Linked DNA regions of Homo sapiens: region 2 is linked to region 1. The links are contacts of gene promoters, found by promoter capture Hi-C in blood cells and fetal thymus (Javierre and others, 2016). All regions are on one chromosome and are shown on one strand. Each heading gives the region's core, a stretch centred on a gene start or on the middle of the fragment in contact. The rest is flanking DNA. Distances are from core to core; before and after follow the strand shown. Region 1 holds the start of DYTN (dystrotelin). Region 2 overlaps LOC105373854 (a long non-coding RNA gene).

Evidence for each region. Contacts are between HindIII fragments. The CHiCAGO score rates a contact against its expected background, and 5 or more counts as called.
Region 2: a contact is called between a fragment that was not itself captured here and the fragment with the promoter of DYTN in region 1, in 5 of 17 cell types (activated CD4 T cells, naive B cells, total B cells and 2 more). The highest score is 8.7, in activated CD4 T cells.

What each region holds. Positions count from the first base shown.
Region 1 is chr2:206,714,898-206,722,313 of GRCh38, forward strand. It overlaps DYTN (dystrotelin), which reads right to left and starts at 3,499. Exons shown (of 12, transcript NM_001093730.1): 1 at 3,364-3,499. The coding sequence starts at 3,382. The HindIII fragment of the contact is 17,717 bases long and covers 1-7,416 here.
Region 2 is chr2:208,067,453-208,074,801 of GRCh38, forward strand. LOC105373854 (a long non-coding RNA gene) reads left to right here. Exons shown (of 4, transcript XR_923815.3): 2 at 2,079-2,249; 3 at 4,811-4,908. LOC124905439 (small nucleolar RNA U13) reads right to left here and starts at 6,710; the gene lies at 6,609-6,710. The HindIII fragment of the contact is 2,662 bases long and covers 600-3,261 here.

The DNA of each region.
Region 1 (7,416 bases), core at 2,249-4,748:
GTCTCCCAGGGATAGTTCCCTCCCAAACTTAACTCAGCCTAAATTTCTTTTTTTTTTTTTCTCGTCTTATTCAGCGTTTCATTAGTAGTGCTAATGTAGCTACTTAGTGCATGTTGAAGGAACAGATGTCTAAGATACTAAGCAGCATTCCAGGCAGAGAACACAGACTGGGCAAAGGCATGGAGGATGGATAAGATGCTGAGCTGCTCACTGTGGCTGGAATGGGAGGTCAGGAATGAGGTAGAAACAGGTGGGAATCAGGGAACAGGCAGGTAGGAACAGGCAGGAGCTATTAGGTCCTTCTGGGTCCCAATCCTACTTTTTGGGGGAGGAACTGTCAAGCCCTGGGTCCTAGGTTTGGATGGATGGAGAAACTGGGTGCCTGTCCAGGATTTCCCAGCCTCCTTGGGCTTTGCCTTCCTCATTGAGATTCCTCCCCAGAGGCGAGGGGGAGGGGAGATGACTTAGGGACGGCAGCTCTCAGATGCATCCTTATCCAGCACAGGGAGCCCGCCAGCTGCCCGTATATATCAGGGCCAGTGTTGTCTTGTTGCTTGCTGGGAAGGGAAGTGTGGGAGATAATTGTGTCTCCTTGGGAAGAAATATGGGTGCAGGCAGAAGCATCTTTCTTTCAGCTTTGGGAGAAGAGATGTTCACTCAGCATCTTCCTCCAGAGTAGGGTGAGGTGAGGGAGAATGTTTAACCCTTTCCCCTTAAACACTCTCTGTAAAATCAATTCCCAAAGGTTAATAATGCATAATTATGCAAAAGGAATTTGGAATAATTCAAAGAGGTTGGCTGGAGAAAGTTCTTGGGGCTAGGAAGGCAGAGAGGAGGTTAGAGAACCATAGGAGTTCAAGGGGGCTGTAGGCAAGTTGGAACAAGTATCAGTTTAGAAAGTGGCTGTGGTGGCCGGGTGCGGTGGCTCACGCCTGTAATCCCAGCACTTTGGGAGGCCAAGGCAGGTGGATAACGAGGTCAGGAGATAAAGACCATCCTGGCCAACATGGTGAAACCCCGCCTCTACTAAAAATACAAAAATTAGCTGGGTGTGGTGGTGCGTGCCTGTAATCTCAGCTACTTGGGAGGCTGAGGCAGAAGAATCGCTTGAACCAGGGAGTTGGAGGTTGCAGTGAGCCAAGATCGCGCTACTGCACTCCAGCCTGGTGGCAGAGCGAGACTCCATCTCAAAAAACAAACAAACAAACAAAAAACAAAAGAAAAAGAAAGAAAGAAAGTGAACTCAGCCTAAATTTCATATCAAGGTACAGTGCCTTGATTTTGATTTAGGAAATGATGTTTCTTGCCCTTGAGTGTTGTGGGGTAAAGTACTAGCTGTTACACATAAGATACTGAGTGCCAGGCACTGTGTGGAGCCACAGAGGGGATTAGAGTGCTGAACCAGGCCAGAGCCACCCCAGGCCAGAGCCATCCCAAAGTAGTGAGAACATGCCACAGGCCTCTCTCTGAATGTATATCCATCCAACAGTCAGCATATGATCATGGATTAAAGACATCTACCTCAGGTGAAGTGGACTGTGCCTAAACATTGTCGCCCAAACAAGAGAGGTTGTTTAAAAACCGTCTACATGTTTTCCTTTCTTTTTCAAGAGGTACAAACATATATATAACTACAATTTGCTCTAAATCTTTTGTTATTCATCATTTCCTTAGGCTTTAAAAATGCTTAGTTTTCAGATAAGATGCCAATGTTAGAGAATGGGAGATGTCAGAAACTCCTCTGTCCTATGTTTGGAGAAAAAAAAAATTGAGAGTAGGCATAATAGGGTGGAAATAATTTACAATAGTGTAATGCCCAACATTTCTTTCCTCTGGAAATTGGCCAATGTTTGTGCCCTGGTTCCTCTCAGATGCACCAAGCAGATACACAGAATCAGCAGACAAGGGGCTCTGCAAGTTCCCAGATGCTGCTCTTGGTAGAGGAGCGACTCTGTAGCTGCTCTACCATCTGGCCATCACTCTCCTGTCAAGTTATGCTTTACAGCGTCATCTGATGAAGTTAGGCAGCATAACACGGCAAGCTGTGATACAGTGCAACATGGAAAATGAATGAGGAGCCCAGGTGAGCCAACACCAGACCCACTTCCTCAAGGCTAACTTTTACATTTTTTTTCTGCCGATGCAAACACACACACACACACACACACACACACACACACAAAACAAACTCAAGAAAGGAAGAAACTACCAAATGTATCACGCCCAAAGCTATGAACAAAGCAGTTTTAGATGCTTAAAGAAATAGTAACACAAGCTACATGTGTTCTTCTTCATGGAAGCAAAATGATTGGGAAATATCTTTTGACCAGGATTCTTGTTTTTGCTCAGCTACATCAGTATATTTATTTTCCACAGATACTAAGGTGGATATAATACAATTCTTTCAAATGTCCATCATCTAGTTCAATGATCCAAAATAGATGCTGTAGGCCAGTGGTCCTCACAGTGTGGTCCCAAGCCAGCAGCATCATGTCACCTGGGAACCTGTTAGAAATGTACATTCCTGGACTCTTCCCAGACCCACGGAATCACAAACTTTGCAGCATATTAACAAACCTTTCAGGTGATTCTGATGCATGCTAATTTTGAGACACACTGCCTTAGAAAATTGAGAAAGAAGAAAATTGAGAGTTGAATGGATTACCTACTGCTTTGTGTAAAGCGTATTAATATGAGAGCCCAAATTTGGAAAACCCAAAGGTATTGTAATCATTTATAATGTTGTTTTAGATAAACAACTAGGGATCATACAGAATTTCATATAAAACAAGTAAGATAACAATGTAGATTTTGGTTAGGGGAGTAAGGCTCCAAACAGATCTAGCAATAGAAATCCCACAGATCAGTTCTGGGCCTAACTTGGCATTCAGCGATGTTAGAAGAAAGGGGAACTAGTTTCTCCATATCCACTTATAAAATTTTCATATAGTGACAACTGTGAGACCTTTCTCCCAACTTGAACTACACAGTACTGTGAACTTACCTATGACATTAAAATATATACGATAATTTCATTTTAATAGTAAACTATGAATATACATAAAACTAAGGTAATAGTTTCTGTGTATTTGAATAGCAATTCAAATGTAATTATGTTGACATCAAGTCTTTTGTTAGATTATTTTTGGTGCTTTCGAGACAATAGACCAGATACTCTTCAGTACATGGTGGATTTCTGTTTAGAAGAGAGAGAAAGCCACTTTAATCAAATAACAGTTTCTTTTTCAGCCAGAAATTTGCCAAATGTTTACTCTTCTTCAAATCAGAGGTCTGAAAATATAACATCTGTGCCTAATTTTTCTGTTTACAAACTATGCTCAGAAACTTGACAATAATACTCACCTTGTTTATCTGGATCCATTTCACAAATTTCCTGGAATGACAGATGGCAAGTGGGTCCCTGTAACTAGAAATGAACCAGTATTTTAAGCAGAAGGTTTTGCAGCAGAGGAATGAGGACAGGGGAACAAAAAGGCAACTAAACAAATCATTTTACCTGTGGAAAGTGACTGCAAGGTGTTCAAGGTGACTGAAATATCTTGGGAGGAAGAAAACAGGGAGAAACATAGAAGCAGAGGCTCCTGATACTGACCACGCTTCTCAGAAAACTGAGAACAGCTCCTGAAACTAATACCATGATGACTTAGAGGCTTTGAGGCATTGTAATTTTAAGAGTGGACTGTATTCTTACTTTAAGATGATATCAATTTACTTGAACTTTAAGAACAAAATTTGAAACTCTCAATACTTAAATTTCTAATAATACTATGCTAAATCATTCTACATATTAAATTTCTAACAAAAGCTATCAACTTGTCATATATATGCATATATACATACATGTATGTATATGTATACATAGGATTCTGTTAATAATTAATTTTTAAAAGAGTAGTCAATTAGCTACCTTTGTTAATTGTTTCATGTTGCAACTATTGTTCAAACAACACACACACAAGAGGTTTGTGGAAAATGTATATTCTGAAAAAAAATAGGCAAGGATTTCAAAATTTTTTTGTACCAAAATAAACTCACACTAGATTGTTGAAGCATGTCTGAACAGGATTTAGTTTGAAGCATTAAGAAGGATAAGATATCAGTCTGAAAATAGCTCTTGAGAGCAACATGAATTCTGCTAAAATGGAAGCAAGAACAAACGTCAAATTTATGGTAAAACTTGGGTGGTAAAATAGTAAAATCATTGATGCTTTACAAAAAGTTTATGGGGACAATGCCCCAAATAAATCAATAGTTTACACCATGGAATACTATGCAGCCATATAAAGGAACAAGATCATATCCTTTGCAGGGACATGGGTGGAGCTGGAAGCCATTATCCTCAGCATACTAATACAGGAACAGAAAACCAAAGACTGCATGTTTTCACTTATAAGTGGGAGCTGAACAATGAGAACACATGGATGCAGGGAGGGGAACTACACACACTGGGGCCTGTTGGAGGTGCAGGAAGAGGAAGAGCATCAGAATAAATAGCTAATGCATGTAGGGCTTAATACCCAGGTGATGGGCTGATAGGTGCAGCAAACCACCATGGCACATGTTTACCTGTGTAACAAACCTGCACGTCCTACGCATGTATCCCAGTACTTAAAATAAAATTAAATTTTAAAAAAAGAAAGGAAAAAAGAAATCAGTAGTTCACAGAGAGATAACTCATTTTGAGAAGGGATGAGAGGATGTGAAAGATGAAACCCACAGCAGTGGACCATCCACATCAGTTTGCAAGAAAAAAATGAAGTTTTTTCTTTAAAGAAATGTGAATGCTGTAATTTAAGAGGACAATTAACAGAAGAAACAATAGCCAACTCCATAGATAGCTCAACTGATTGAGCTTACACAATTCTAACTGAAAAATTGAAGTTGCGCTAGCTTTCTACCAGAAGGGTGCCAAAACCATTGCACGTAGATCAGCTGCAGACAAGAGCAGGGTCAATGGAAATTTTAAACATGTGGGACCAAGATTCTGAAGCCTTTCTTTGCAGAATTGTAACAAGAGATGAAACATGACTTTGCCAGTATAATCCTGAAGACAAAGTACAATCAAAGCAACGGCTACCAAGAGATGGAAGTGGTCCAGTCAAAGCAAAAGCAGACCTATCAAGAGAAAAGGTTCTGGCAACAGTTTTTAGGATGTTCCAGGTATTTTGCTTGTTGACGGGCCAAAAGAACAATAATATCTGCTTATCATGAGAGCATTTTGAGAAAGTTAGCCAAAGCATTAGCAGAAAAACACCCAGGACAGCATCACCAGCGAGTCCTCCATGACACTGCTTCTGCTCATTCTTCTCATCACATAAGGACAATTTTGCAAGTGATTTGAAGAGAAATCATTAGGTATCCACTTTACAATTCTGATTTGGCTCCTTCTCTTTTCTTTTTGTTTCCTAATCTTAAAAAATCTTCAAAGGGCACCTAGTTTTCTTCAGTTAATAATGTCAAAAGGACTGCACTGACATGGTTAAATTCTCAGGATCCTCGGTTCTTTAAGGATGGACTAAATGGCTGGTATTATCACTTACAAAAGTGTCTTGAACTTGATAAGGCTTATGCTGATAAATAAATTTGTTTTTATTTTTATCTTTTAATTCCATTTTTCCATGAACTTTTGAAGTCTCTGTGTGTGTCTAATATACTATATATATACACATATATATTCATTTTCAGCAAAAAGAATGGGTTGTGGTGTAAGAAAAGCCTTATTAGTTCTCAGAAAAAGATGTAACATGGGTACATAACTACCTGTGTTATCATGGGTAGTTTAAAACTGTTTTTAAAAAGTTATATGATAATTACATTTAAATAATACTTTACCCTCCTTCTAATGAATGAATGAATTAGAGCACAAGTTATTTGGGCAGATAAATAACATTTTACAGAAAGCAAAATTAAAGAAAAATCTGATTACATTCATTCTTTAAAAATATAACAGTGGCCAGGCACAGTGGCTCTCACGCCTCTAATCCAGCACTTTGGGAGGCTGAAGGAGGCAGATCACCTGAAGTCAGGAGTTTGAGACCAGCCTGGCCAACATGATGAAACCCCATCTCTACTAAAAATGCAAACATTAGCCAGGCGTGGTGGTGGGTGTCTCTAATCCCAGTTACTCGGGAGGCTGAGGCAAAAGAGTTGCTTGAAGCTGGAGGCAGAGGTTGCAGTGAGCCAAGATGTGACACTGCACTCCAGCTTAGGTGACAGAGCAAGACTCTGCCTCAATAATAATAATAATAATAATAATAATAATAGTGGTAATCTAAGACTTCCCAAAACCTAGCAAGTTTCCATATATATTCAAATAAGATTTTTTAGAAAAGTTGTAGCATGGGAAATCAGTTTAGAACTCTTCTTGGTGTAGAAATTCCTGAAGTTCCTAGGTAGGCCTGGAAGGGTCCAGCCTCCCGGCCAGTCAACAGGATAGCTGAAGATATGATCTATCTGCCTCTACACCAAGTCCTTACCTTTCTTAGTTTCCGCAGAGAAGCATTCTAGTGGAACCTCCGTAAAAATGACTCAGCAGTTCTAGAAGACAGAAGCTGAGTAAAATCAGGTTTCCAGATGTAGCATTCCTGTGTAGAGTTGATTTCTTGTTCTGGTTGTCTAGCAATTGCATGCAAAACAGTAATCTTTGAGGCTGCACTATTTTTAAGGGCTCACAGAAGCACATTCATTAATAATAAAGATCCTGAATAATTTAAGGCTACTCCCACATCTCTTGTTTCAAAGGGCCATTTTCATATCAGTTTCACATGTAAACTGATGTAAACTGAAAGGCAGGTAAAACTTCTGGGTGCTATTGAGAGCAGGGCATATCACAGAGAGCAGCAAGCAGTCAGAAGGGCCCCATGTCCCACATAACCGCCACCTTCCAAACCAACTCAGATAGGAGTGACCTAGGAGTGGAACTGAAGTAATTTTATTCTTTTATAAACACAGAGATGGGGTTACACATTTTTAAAAGGCATTAAATATAATGCAGGTCTTGAAAAGGATAATAATAATTTGTTATGAATGTACATTTCCTCTTAAAATTAAGTATAATCAGAAAACGTCTTATTTCTAAAGAAGTTTAGACTAAAAATGAATTTGTTCTAATCCTATTAGGATTTTTAAAAGATGATGTCACATGAACCAAATGTATCACAACTTTACCATTAATGACTTCAAGCTGTTGAAAAGGTAGGGAGCGGATATAGTTTGGCTGTGTCCCCACCCAAATCTCACCTTGAATTGTAATAATCCCCATGTGTCAAGGGCAGGGCTGGGTGGAGATAATTGAATCATGGGGGCTGTTTCCCCCATACTGTTCTCATGGTGGTGAATAAGTCTCACGTGATCTGATGGTTTTATAAATGGGAGTTTCCCTGCATAAGCGCTCTT
Region 2 (7,349 bases), core at 681-3,180, 1.4 Mb after region 1:
AGATTACACTACATTTCAATGACCCATAAAAATAATTTCTACCTGAGTTAGACAATAGAATATATTAAAAGAAGGGAACATTAACACACAATAATGCCAAATAAAATGATTCAAACAATTGAAAGATAATACTGCAAACATTTACATTTTAAAAGTTATTCTTTTTTGGAGACGGAGTCTTGCTCTGTCACCCAGGTTGGAGTGCAGTGGTGCAATCTCGGCTTACTGCAACCTCCGCCTCCCAGGTTCAAGCAATTCTCCTACCTCAGCCTCCCGAATAGCTGAGATTACAGGCTCATGCCACTGCGCCCGGCTAATTTTTGTATTTTTAGTAGAGACAGGGTTTCACCATGCTGCCCAGGCTGGTCTCAAACTCCTGAACTCATGATCTGCCCGCCTTGGCTTCTCAAAGAGCTGGGATTACAGGCGTGGGCCATTGCGCCCGGCCAAAAGTTATTCTTAAAATGAAATTGAAAAACACATAAAGCATGAATTGCCCTGAATGTCTTGGTCCTTGTTTCCTGACAAATATTCCAGGTGTAGAATGTTTTTTCATCCTCTGTTAATGTTAATTTATTATTACTAAGAATGTGTCTACAAGCTTCTTCGAATTGAGCATTAGGGTACGTGTTGGTTATTATAAACTCATTCACTTTTCTTAATGATGAAAATAATTGTCTTCTTTCACTGGTTTTGATTTTTTTCCTTGAAGTCTATGTTATTTTCGCTAATTCAGATTTTAGATGTTTCTGACTTCGTGATGGAATAGTTCCCAACAATATTCACTCTTCTTTGCATTGCTTCTGATAAAGCATATTTTCCTCCACAAAAGTCTTTCCTTAATGATTTTGCTAATTGAGCCATTTCATTTTTGTTTGCTGAAGCAAAAAGAGTTGTCAACCTCATATAAACTAACTGCTGAAATATTTTAATGAGAAATATGAGATCTTTTTTCTGCATTAAATAATTCAATTCTAACTTCTTTTAAAAGCATACTACTCAAAGCACAAGTCTGTTTTCGATTAGAAGATTTGCATCATGATTACTTAATGCTTCAACTACTAATCAAACAAGTTTTAAGCAAGTTATTGTCTCTCTCACAATTTGACAATATTCCATTTTCTCTCTCCTTTCTTCCTGCCCCCCCTACTTCCTCCCTTCCTTTTTTTTTTTTTTTAGACAGAGTCTCACTCTTGTCGCCCAGGCTGGAGTGCAATGGCGTGATCTCAGCTCATTGCAAACTCCGCCTCCTGGGCTCAAGCAATTCTCCTGCCTCAGCCTCCCAAGTAGCTGGGATTACAGGCATCCACCACCATGCCCAGCTAATTTTTGTATTTTTAGTAAAGACAGGGTTTCACCATGTTGGTCAGGCTGATCTCGAACTCCTGACCTCAGGTAATCTGCCCGCCTTGGCCTCCCAAAGTGCTGGGATTACAGGCATGAGCCACCGTGCCTGGCCCCCTTTCTTCTTTTTTTAAGACAAGGTCTTACTGTGTTACCCAGGCTGGAGTGCAGTGGCACGATCATAGCTCACTGCAAGCCTTAACACCTGGGCTCAAGTGATCCTTCTGGCTCAGCCTCTTGAGTAGCTGGGACTACAGGTGTGCACCACTACACTCAGCTATTTTTTTATTTTTAGCAGAGACAGGGGCTCGCTATGCTGCCCAGGCTGGTCTCAAATTTCTGAGCTCAAGTTATCCTTCCATCTTGGCCTCCCAAAGTGCTGGGATTACAGGTGTGAGCTGCTGTGCCCGGCCTGTGTTTTTTTTCTTTCTTTATGCAAGAGAGAATTTCTTATTGGAGAAAATGTAAACAGTTTTACAACTTTCCTTTTTCTAAAAATTGCCAGAAAGACACGACCTTGTGGATTATACTGACTGGCTCCAGCCACATCATCTGAATCAGAGTAATTGCTTTCATCTGTGTCATAGACAGACTACACTGTGTTCACCTCCTCTGCCAGTTGTTTCTGATGCTGTAACCTCCAGTTTTTGAGTAAAACACTTTTGTTACAGCAAGAAGGAACACATTTGCTGAAAACTTTCCAAATTTTTTCGTTACTGCTGCACCATCACTAGCTGTTGATATCGATGGAATTCCTGACCAGTAACATTTCCATGAAGATCATTACAATTTATTTCTTGAAATTCTGGGAAGGCATGGAAACATCACATTGCAGCAGATGCTGGGGATGCAGCAATGAACAAGACAGGCCAGATCCCTACTCTCAGATAAACACAATGATCCAGGTATTTCCAATAATGAAATGACACTGAAGAAATAAGGTGATGTGTCTGGGGATGGCTGTGATATTTTTAGTTAGTATTGAGGTTTAGCGGCATGTAACAGTCAAGCTGCAAATAACAGTGTATTAAATTAGATAGAAACTTTTTTTTTTTTCACGTCAAAGTTATCTAGAGGCTGGTATTGCACACTCCACCCCTATCCCACAGTGCCATTAGCCAGGCCCCTACCTGCTCTTCCTCCCATCCTCACTGCCATCTCAGCATCCAAGGTGTTTTCAGGAGCTCCAGTGATCACATCTGCATTCCAGATAGCAGGAGAGGGGAAAATAGGAAGAAGAGCTGTTTGCTTCCCCCTTTTTTCTCTCCACTTTTTTTTTTTTTGAGATGAGTTCTCACTCTGTTGCCCAGGCTGGAGTGCAGTGAGGCAATCATAGCTCACTCACTGTATCCTTGAACTCCTGGGCTCAAGCCATCCTCCAACCTCGGCCTCCCGAGTAGCTGGGACTACAGGCATGAACCACTACACTTGGCTAATAAGAAAAAAAAAACAAAAAACGAAAACAGGCTGGGCGCGGTGGCTCACGCTTATAATCCCAGCACTTTGAGAGACCAAGGCGGGTGGATCACGAGGTCAGGAGATTGAGACCATCCTGGCTAACACGGTGAAACCCCGTCTCTACTAAAAATACAAAAAAAATTAGCTGGGCATGGTGGTGCACACCTATAATCCCAGCAACTCAGGAGGCTCAGGCAGGGGAATGGCGTGAACCCGGGAGGTGGGGCTTGCAGTGAGCTGAGATCGTGCCACTGCACTCCAGCCTGGGCGACAGAACGAGACTTCATCTCAAAAAAAAAAAAAGAAAAAATTTATATTTTGTAAAGATGGTGTCTTACTATGTTGCCCAGGCTGGTCTCAAACTCCTGGCCTCAAGTGATCCTCCCAGCTCAGCCTCCCAAAGTGCTGGGATTCTAGTCATGAGGCACCTCCTCTGGCCTGTCTGCTTCCCTTTAAGGAAGCTTCTAGGAAGTCCCACTGAACATATCCGTTTACATCCCATTAGCCAGAAACATGGCCACATCCTGCTGCTAGTGAGGCTGAGAAATATGACTGATATACTGGGCAGGAAAGTTTCCAGCTAGGCCGCGCGCAGTGGCTCACACCTGTAATCCCAGCACTTTAGAAGGCCAAGGCAGGTGGATCACCTGAGACCACGAGTTCGAGATCACCCTGGCCAACATGGTGAAGCCCCGTTTCTACAAAAAATACAAAAATTAGCTGGGTATGGTGGCGCATGCCTGTAATCCCAGCTACTCGGGAGGTTGAGGCATGAAAATTGCTTGAACCCGGAAGGCGTAGGTTGCAGTGAGCTGAGATCATGCCACTGCACTCCAGCCTGGGCGACAGAGAGAGACTCTGTCTCCATCAAACAAACAAACAAACAAACAAACAAACAAAACCCAAAACATTTCCAGCCAAAGATCAGGGTTCTGTTTTGCATGTTGGGAAGGGCAGACAGGAATGAGTGGTCAAAGAGGTCTTTTCCTAGGAAGCAACAATTTGGAACTTGAATGATAAGAAGCCTCCAGTTAGATGATGGAAGCAGAATGTTTCAGGCAAGGGAAACAGCAAATGGAAAATGGCAATTTCATGGAAACAAGAAAGTCTGAAACATAATGAGAAGGAAAGGAGATTAGTCTGGGATAATAGATAATGGCTAGACCACACAGGCCTTTACCTGTCAGAGAATTGCTTTCATTTTTTAAAAAACTGAAAATTTTTAATTGCATTGGGATTTTTTTCTTTTTTTTGACTGAGTCTCACTCTATCACCCAGGGTGGAGTGCAGTGGCATGATCTCAGCTCACTGCAACTTCTGCCTCTTGGGTTCAAGTGATTCTCATGCCTCAGCCTCCTGCATAGTTGGGATTACAGGCGTGTGCCACCATGCCTGGCTAATTTTTGTAGTTGTAGTATAGATGAGGTTTCATCATAATGGCCAGGCTGGTCTCAAACTCCTGACCTCAGGTGATCTACCCACCTTGGCCTCCCAAAGTGCTGGGATTACAGGTATGAGCCACTGTACCCAGCCTGCAGTGGGAATTAATTTTAAAGGAAGGAAGTGACATGACTTAGAGTCTCGCTAGTGCTGATATATAGTAGATGTTAAAGAAATCTATCCTTAAGTACGCTGGAAATATCTTGGTTTTTAATCCTGATTACATCCCTAATCATTTAATGGGATGTGGGAAATTATTGATTGTTTTGCCTTATGTCTATAGGCAACATATAAAATTATATTTGTTCATCAGCTGCCTGAATAAAACCAATAATCCATGAGGTAGATCCACAGTAGCATGCTTTCCGTAGAGGATGTGGGGTACAGCAGATATGAGGCACTTGTGTGTTTGTGTGGAGGGGAGTACTAATAAATAAGAAAACGTCACATGTGTATGTATCTGTGCTTGAGGCAGCTCTTTGAGGATGTGTGCAAATCAAGAAAAGGGCTTTTATTTTGATTCCTTTAATTGTGCCTTATTAACTTTTTTTCTTTTTTCTTTATTAAGGTCAGTAGGCATTTGGTAGGAATCTGCATCAAACTGTTGGGCAATGGTAGACAGCAACATTGACGTCTGTAAATTTACACTTGGATTCTTAGTTTCTGGTGAGTAGTTTGTGCTCCTTCAACACTCAGTGAGAGATGATGATAAGCAAACCTTCAGCCTTCAGCTTTCCTGATGCAGTAGGAATTGCCACAAATGCCTGGCTGTGGTCGCCCTCTACTGGACGAATTAAGCCTAACGTTTAAAAGCCACCAGACCACTGTTCCCTTTATAATATCCTCTTCTGCCAAAGCCTACTCACCCTTTAGGTCTGAGAGAGGCCTCTCAGCATCCCCCCTTTCTCTCACCATCTCTGATATGTGTGTTCGTATGACTATTTGATTGACGTCTGTCTCCTCCCTTTCTGCATAGGCTGTAGTCTGCATGAGGGCAGGGACTCTGTTTGCCTCCGAGTGCCTGACACCATTCTTCAATAAATATGTGTTAAATGGATGAATAAAGGAGGAATGAAGGGCCCAAATGTCAAGAGTGAGCCTTTCACACTTCACTCTAGCTGACTGCAGCACGTAGGAGAAAATATAAATTCAAGGCATCTATCCTGCAAATTTTTTTCAAGCAACTTACGCTACTCTTAAAAACCCTGTTTATTAAAGTATTACATATATACAGAAAAGTGCACACATTGTAAGTGTCTAGTTCAATGAATTTTCAAAAACTGGTCACACCCCTGTAACCAGTACACAGATCAAGAAACAGAATGTCACCAGAAACCCAGAAACCCACCCGTGCCCTTGTGATTTTAACAGTATAGAGTTCTTTTGCATGTTTTTATATTTTATAAAAATGAAATCATACAATATGTACTTTTTTGCATCTGGCTTCTTTTCTTCTTTTTTTATTTTTTGTTTTTTTGTTTGTTTGTTTTGTTGTTTTTTTTTTTTTGAGACAGAGTCTCATTCTTGTCGCTGGAGTACAGTGGCATGATCTTGCTCACTGCACCCCCTGGGTTCAAGTGATTCTCATGCCTCAGCCTTCTGAATAGCTGGGACCACAGGCATGCATCACCACACCTGGCTAATTTTTGCATTTTTCTGTAGAGATGGGATTTCGCCATGTTTCCCAGGCTGGTCTTGAACTCATGAGCTCAAGTAATCGGCCTGCCTCAGCCTCCCAAAGTGCTGGGATTACAGGTGGGAGACACCACACCCAGCCTTGAAAACACATTTCAATATTTTGTTAAAGATGAGCAGAAAAGGGCCAGGAGCGGTGGCTCACACCTATAATCCCAGCACTTTGGGAGGCCAAGGTGGGCAGATCACGAGGTCAAGAGTTCAAGACCAGCCTGGTCAACATGGTGAAACCCCGTCTCTACTAAGAATACAAACATTAGCCAGGCATGGTAGCGTGTGCCTGTAATCCCAGCTGCTAGGGAGGCTGAGGCAGGAGAATCACTCGAACCCAGGAGGCGGAGGTTGCAGTGAGCTGAGATCGCGCCACTGCACTCAAGCCTGGGCAACAGAGCAAGACTCCGTCTCGAAAAAAAAAAGAAAAAAAGGTGAGCAGAAAAAGTTAATAGTGATTTTCCTTGGTAAAGCCTTAAGGTTTATACCAAAATCATAATCATAGAGCAGATGGCTGGAATAATACAAGATAAAGTTCACTCAACTTTAACAGTGCCTTCCCAGTATGGAAGGAATACAGAAGCTTCTTTCTCATGGGGAGGTGGTTGTGTTGAGGTGGCAAGGGCACTAAACTTATGATCAGAAGAACTAGGACTGAGTTTTGTTGTTGTTGTTGTTCAGGTTGGATGGGTAATGTGCCAGCGCTGTAACAAGGTTCAGAGGGAGGCACATATCACACTTAGGCACAAACACCAAATCATGCTCCTGAACTACAAAAGGAGTGAGTTTTACTTGGCCAGTTACCATTTCTGAGCTTCGGGTAGGTCATTCACTCTCTGAGTTTCATCTGTTAAAATGGACATGCCAATATCTGTCCCATAGAATTGTGTAGGGGAGGAAAAAAATATTTTTTCCTCTACTCTTTCTGATTCTTAGCACAAAAGATAGATTAACAAACTTATTTAAGTTTTACATGACATGGGAAGCTTCATAAGGAAATGAAGACCCAAAGAAGCAGTTAAATGTGAGCGTTGTTTATTGTAGGTTTAGTGAAGAGTGGACCACTGTGGAGAAATGTGGTAGGGCAAAAAGGGTATGATCTAATGGTAAGAAACGGGGAAACGCAGCAAGGCCTGTTTGTTCACTTTAAAATTTTTTTTTTTTTAAATAGAGAGAGGGTCTTGCTATGTTGTTCAGGCTGGTCTCAAGCTCCTGGGCTCAAGCCATCCCTCTGCCTCAACCTCCCAAATTGCTGGGATTACAGGCATGGGCAACTGCACCTGGCCCTCTGTTTTCTTTAAGACCAAGAAGTAAGACCTAGAGTGTTGAAAAACGGATAGTACTGATAGGGTAAGTGGTTACATAAAACTACATTACATAAATTACATAAATATTTCCTGGAAGCTCTGAGCCTGTCAACT